Linked DNA regions of Homo sapiens: region 2 is linked to region 1. Evidence: promoter capture Hi-C in 16 types of primary human blood cells and fetal thymus (Javierre and others, 2016). All regions are on one chromosome and are shown on one strand. Each heading gives the region's core, a stretch centred on a gene start or on the middle of the fragment in contact. The rest is flanking DNA. Distances are from core to core; before and after follow the strand shown. Region 1 holds the start of COA6 (cytochrome c oxidase assembly factor 6). Region 2 overlaps B3GALNT2 (beta-1,3-N-acetylgalactosaminyltransferase 2).

Region 1 (2,756 bases), core at 1-2,500:
CTGCCCAAGATTAAATACTACCCCTTCAGAAGATCCTGGAAAAGTCTACCAGTGAAATGAACTGGAATTTTTTGGTTACTGTTCATATGTTTGTTGTGTTTTTCGATGCTCTTTAATGTGTCAGTTGACATTCTCCAAAGATCTAGCTGATGTAAGTGCGTCAAATAAGGCTGAATTACCAGGCAAGGTTTTCTCTGCGCCTCAAAGAAACTGTTAATTGACATGCCTCAGAGAGCGCTTCATGTCAGCCTACCACTCACAGTATAAGCTCGATGTATCTTAACAGGGAAGAGAAACACATCAAAGTGTGACTTACCCACTGTTGGGGACAACTTGATTCGAAAGAGCTTCTTAACTTCTTGCATTGAGAAGCATCCTCTAAGTTCTCATCTAAACACTTCCAGTACTCATCCCGGGCCCCCCAGCAGACCTGTCTTTCCTTCATAGATGGGGCTGCCATTCCTACTGCGATGAAGCTGTTGGCCAAAATAATATTTGAGATTAACAATGAACTTTGTAATCTGAAGAGAAGATAAGGAAAGAGGAAAACCGTCAATCTCCTCTTCCTTTAAAACTAAAAAAAAAAAAAAAAACAAAAACAAAACAAAACCATGCTTAGGGATTTTGATGAGGCAACTGAACCCAATCAGTTCTCAGTGGCAGCATAAGGCCACCCGCTCTTGAGGCTTATCTCACACTGTGTGATTTGATCCCTGCTGGGGCGGCAGCGTGGGCTCAGAAAGCCCGGCTGAGAACTGTGGTTCTGTCCCAGTCGCTTAGGGCAGCTCATTTATTCTCTCCGAGCCCGTTTCCCACCAGTAAAGCGGGGACAGCAGTGCCTAGTTTACAGGGTTACTGTTCGAACCTAAGCGCTGTAGAAACAGGTGTGTGGGGGCCACAATCACCAAGCAGGCGATTGGAGTGCCACCCCGTTTTGCACAAGAGGAACCCGCGGCTCGGGGACAGTAAGGGACCTCCCGGGCCCATAGTCCACGCGCGCCCCACCCGGACCCATCAGCAAGCCGACCTCTCTGCCCGCCCACGTCCGGCTTCCTTTCGATGTCGACGGGAGGAAACTGTCACGCAGGCCACCAACCGGCGGTGGAGGGCGCGGTGCCGAGTCCTGCCACTGCAGGGTCGCCCCGCTGGCTCAAGCTCTAGAAGCGTAGACCTCCCCAGCCGCAAAAAGCAACTCACGCGGCGAAACCGCGGACTCTTTTGACCCTTCCGAGCTACCATTTACTTTCCATAGAGGGGCGGGACTTCCTGTTTCGCTTTTATCTGTAAGACCGACTTCCGGCCTTCAAGGGCAAGAGGGGTATATACGTATATATCATCGCACGGTGTGTCCCGGAAGGCTTGATATGCTAGTCCCGCGGGACAAGGCGAGCCGAGGAGTTTGTGTGGAAGTTTGCATCTGAGAGTGCGAGAGCTGGACGGAGTGTTACAGAGCCGCGATGCCTTCTCGTTTTGTTTTGTTTTGTTTTTGATACAGTGTCTCGCTCTTCCGCCCAGTCTCGAGTGCAGTGGTGAGAACACGGCTTACTGCAGCCTCAAAATCCTGGACCCAAAAGATCCTCCCACCTCAGCCTGCCTCCCAGGTAGCTGGGACTACAGGCGCACAACACCATCGCTTCTTGGATTAAAAGAAAAGGATGAAACGGGCCCCAGAAAGAGGCGGTGACGTCCCAGAACCCATGGCAGGGGAGTTGGGAAAATAAATATTTGTATTGTTTTAATCTCCCTTGTGGCTTTTTTTAACCCCCGAAACAGCAAGGTATTTTTAAAAGGGATGAAGAGAGTTGCTTCAAATGTTTTGAGACGTTGTTATTTTTAATATGTGAGTGAATATCTTAGAAACAAAATGAACAAGAAATAAAAATTTTAGAAAATATATGAGTTAATCTCTCAGCAGAGTCTTTATTAAAAAGCATGTTTATGGTCAGTCATCTGGCACCCCGTTCTCTTAATAGATCCCATCTGCTCCATCATCTAGTTCTAAAACATTTATATAAGATGCAATTTACAATTTTGCACTCAGTGCAGTTTGATCCATTCCAAATTCAATATATGCAGACTTTTCCGGGTGGCGATGTGAGGCTACGTACCACCAAATATGTGTTCTGCAATATAGAAAGTATTTCCCCCATAGTTAATGCACTCTCATAGTGGAGTTACTTTAGCTTTACCAGAGCCACCCCCTTCTTTTACATCATGTCTATTGACGTCAGTTTACATATAGATATCTTTTAAATATGACTGATGGGATATAAAAGGAATGAAAGGAAAGAGTCTTAGATGACTTCTGAGTCTAAAAAGGAAATGTGTTTTAAATTTAAAATTTATAAGTACCTAATGAAAAATACATATGAAACAAAGTGAAGTGACAGAATTACAAAGAAAAAAAATGCCTGGTCATATTGGGTAATTTTAACAGGACTTTCTCACTAATCGTTAAGACTAGCAAGAGAAAAGTTAAGGATATAGGAAACGTGAATAACATGATGTAAAAATGACGCAATTAATATGTACAGAACAACACGACCAAAATCAGAATGTACAGTTTTTTGAAAGCAGACACATCACCACAGTCAACCACATACTTAGTTATAAAGCAACTCAAGAAATTTTGAAAATTGAAATAATTGTCATTTTTTACTACAGTGCATTTAAGATAGAAATCAATAAAGAACTGTAAAAACAAGCCTGAATAACACAGAGACAGAGTCAATGGTATTGAGAAAATATTTTGAACT
Region 2 (2,700 bases), core at 33-2,532, 1.1 Mb before region 1:
CCAGACTGGGCCACAGAGTGGGACTCCGTCAAAAAAAAAAAAAAAAAGAAACAAGTACCTACCTCATAGGGTTGTGAACATTAAATGATACTCTATATGTAGTGCTTTTCACAGATTAACTGTTCAATAAATATGGCCTATTAATAAGCTTAATCCATGAAAATTTGAATTTATTTAAAAATAAATTGTCTTTATAAAAGAATTCGTTTTAGTACATGACTCATTGTAGAGTGAAATAATAAATACCTCTATTCCATTTGGAATGGAACTTTTTTTTTTTTTTCAGGTGGAGTCTCACTCTTGTTGCCCAGGCTGGAGTGCAATGGCGCGGTCTCGGCTCACCCCAACCTCCACCTCCCGGGTTCAAGAGATTCTCCTGCCTCAGCCTCCCAAGTAGCTGGGATAACAGGCAAGCACCACCACACCCGGCTAATTTTGTATTTTTAGTAGAGACAGGGTTTCTCCATGTTGGTCAGGCTGGTCTTGAACTCCCGACCTCAGGTGATCCGCCCACCTCGGCCTTCCAAAGTGCTGGGATTACAGGCATGAGCCACCGTGCCTGGCCCAGAATGAAACATTTTAAGAAATATATCTATTGTGGAAAATAAGGTATCTACACAAAAATTTCTGTATTATATCCTTAAAACTATCCTAGTAGAAAGATCTGTTTTTATTATTTTAATTGGGCCTTTGAAGAAAATATCAACCTGGTTTTGTTGTCTTTTAGACTGAATACCTAGATCCCATGGTATATAAAAACATTGCATTTAATATAGTAAAGAGTCTGGGCTTCAATAATTTATTTTTGGAAACGTTTTGGATCAGTTCCCACCACTGGAGAAAGAGATGAAATGGATACCTCATCAGAGCTATATATAAGCTTGTAGCTCTCAAGCCTTAAAACTGGTGATGAAAAACAAGGACAAAGTATATCTTTCTCTTCTGTCTTCTAAGGACAAGTTTTACATGGAAATGTAACCCTGCCCATTAGACCTTCTGACAGTAAAAAATGAGCCGTTCAGAATGACTTACTTTATTATTATTTTTTTTTTTTTTTACTAAAAGTGTTGCTTTCCCGTCATTCTTCAGAATATTTTGTAGGTAGTGAAAGGTTTACTGGCTATAGAATTCATTGATATAAATAAGGGTTGCATTACTTTCCGGTATGGAAGTCCTTCAGCGTCATCCGCCAAACTTAATAACTAACATTAATGTAGGACCTCACTTTTCAAAGCACATTTTTTTTAGTTGCCATTGAATGCCTCATATATGCCTAATACCAAACCAAGAGCTTTATACATGTTATCTCATTTAATTTTTACAACAGCTTTATGAGAAGTATTATTATACCCATTTTGTAGTTGAGGAAACTGAGGCTCAAGAAGCTAAATAACTTATAGTTAATATATGATAGAGCCTGGATTCTAACTGTGGCCTAATTGACTCTTAATGCCTACTATTTTTTTATGCTACGTTGCCTTTTGAAACAGATTCTTACCACATCTTGTTTGTTTTGAAGAATTAGTATACTTACGTGAGCATGAATACATACATATATACGTGAAAGACAAAAATACTCTAAACCAAAATGTTATTAGTGGTTGTCTCTGGATAGTGGGTTCATATGTGATTTAAAAATTCTTTTCTTTGTGTTTATCTGAATTTCCTACAAACATAAGCTTATTTTGTAATAAACTTATGATACATATTGAACTTCATAGTAATTGATACATGACTTATTTCTCATGTATTGTTCTTATTTCTAGATCAGTTGGCCTTATTTCCTCAGTGGAAATCTACTCACTATGATGTGGTAGTTGGCGTGTTGTCAGCTCGCAATAACCATGAACTTCGAAACGTGATAAGAAGCACCTGGATGAGACATTTGCTACAGCATCCCACATTAAGTCAACGGTAGGTTTTCTGAGTTGTTGCCTTGCCTGGTTTATTGAAATAAGAGTTCTGAAAAACCTAGCCAGGCGTGGTGGTGTGTGCCCGTCGTCCCAGCTACCGGGGAGGCTGAGGTGGAAGGATTGCTTGAGCTTGGAAAATTGAGGCTGCAGTGAGCCATGATTGCACCACTGCATTCTAGCCTGCATGATGGGAATGAGTCCCTGCCTAATTTAAAAAAAAAAAAAGTTCTGAAAAACCTTACTTTGAATAGAAATGTTCATTCAGATATGTGGGCTCTTCCTGGGAGAAATGGCTGTTTCATTTGCTTTTCTTCCATATAGTTTGGGCCAAAAAGTAAATTTAACCAACATTTTAAGCCAAATGATAATTGGAAGAGAGTATATTCACTGGTTAACGTGTAGTATTTAGATACCCAGTGTGGTTTGTTTGTTTTTTGCTTTGATTTAGAATAGCAATTCTTAAAAGGTTCTGTTCTAGAGCAGTTCTCTCCTTAGACACATGTGCATGTCTAAATATACTTTTCACTAACTTCACAGAGATAAATTTAATTTTTTTCAGTTTTGTAGTATTTTTTAGTTGTGTAATCTGCAGTATGTGTAATATGCCATGCTCTTTTTCCTGACTACCCTTCTGGAACTGAGCTTTGGTAATCCATTTCATGCTGACATTAGATAGCTCTCAGTTATTAGTTAGGGGCCCAAAGCCTTAGTCTGTTCTCAATGAGATCAACCTCTGAAGATTGTGTAGTGAGGGACTAGGGGAAGAAACGCATAGAAGTTGACTTCT

The links. The method cuts DNA at HindIII sites, captures the fragments that hold promoters and counts their contacts. A CHiCAGO score of 5 or more calls a contact.
Region 2: a contact is called between a fragment that was not itself captured here and the fragment with the promoter of COA6 in region 1, in 3 of 17 cell types (activated CD4 T cells, naive CD4 T cells and total CD4 T cells). The highest score is 6.5, in activated CD4 T cells.

The regions. Positions count from the first base shown.
Region 1 is chr1:234,371,950-234,374,705 of GRCh38, reverse strand. It overlaps COA6 (cytochrome c oxidase assembly factor 6), which reads right to left and starts at 1,250. Exons shown (of 3, transcript NM_001206641.3): 1 at 1,028-1,250; 2 at 317-476. The coding sequence starts at 1,239. COA6-AS1 (COA6 antisense RNA 1) reads left to right here and starts at 1,113. Exons shown (of 2, transcript NR_125961.1): 1 at 1,113-1,283; 2 at 1,496-1,899. RefSeq lists enhancers at 867-1,416, 1,238-2,062. The HindIII fragment of the contact is 9,162 bases long and covers 1-2,756 here.
Region 2 is chr1:235,493,895-235,496,594 of GRCh38, reverse strand. It overlaps B3GALNT2 (beta-1,3-N-acetylgalactosaminyltransferase 2), which reads left to right. Exons shown (of 12, transcript NM_152490.5): 2 at 1,767-1,914. Among named protein-coding and RNA genes, the nearest start is that of B3GALNT2, 9.2 kb to the left of the region's middle. The HindIII fragment of the contact is 799 bases long and covers 883-1,681 here.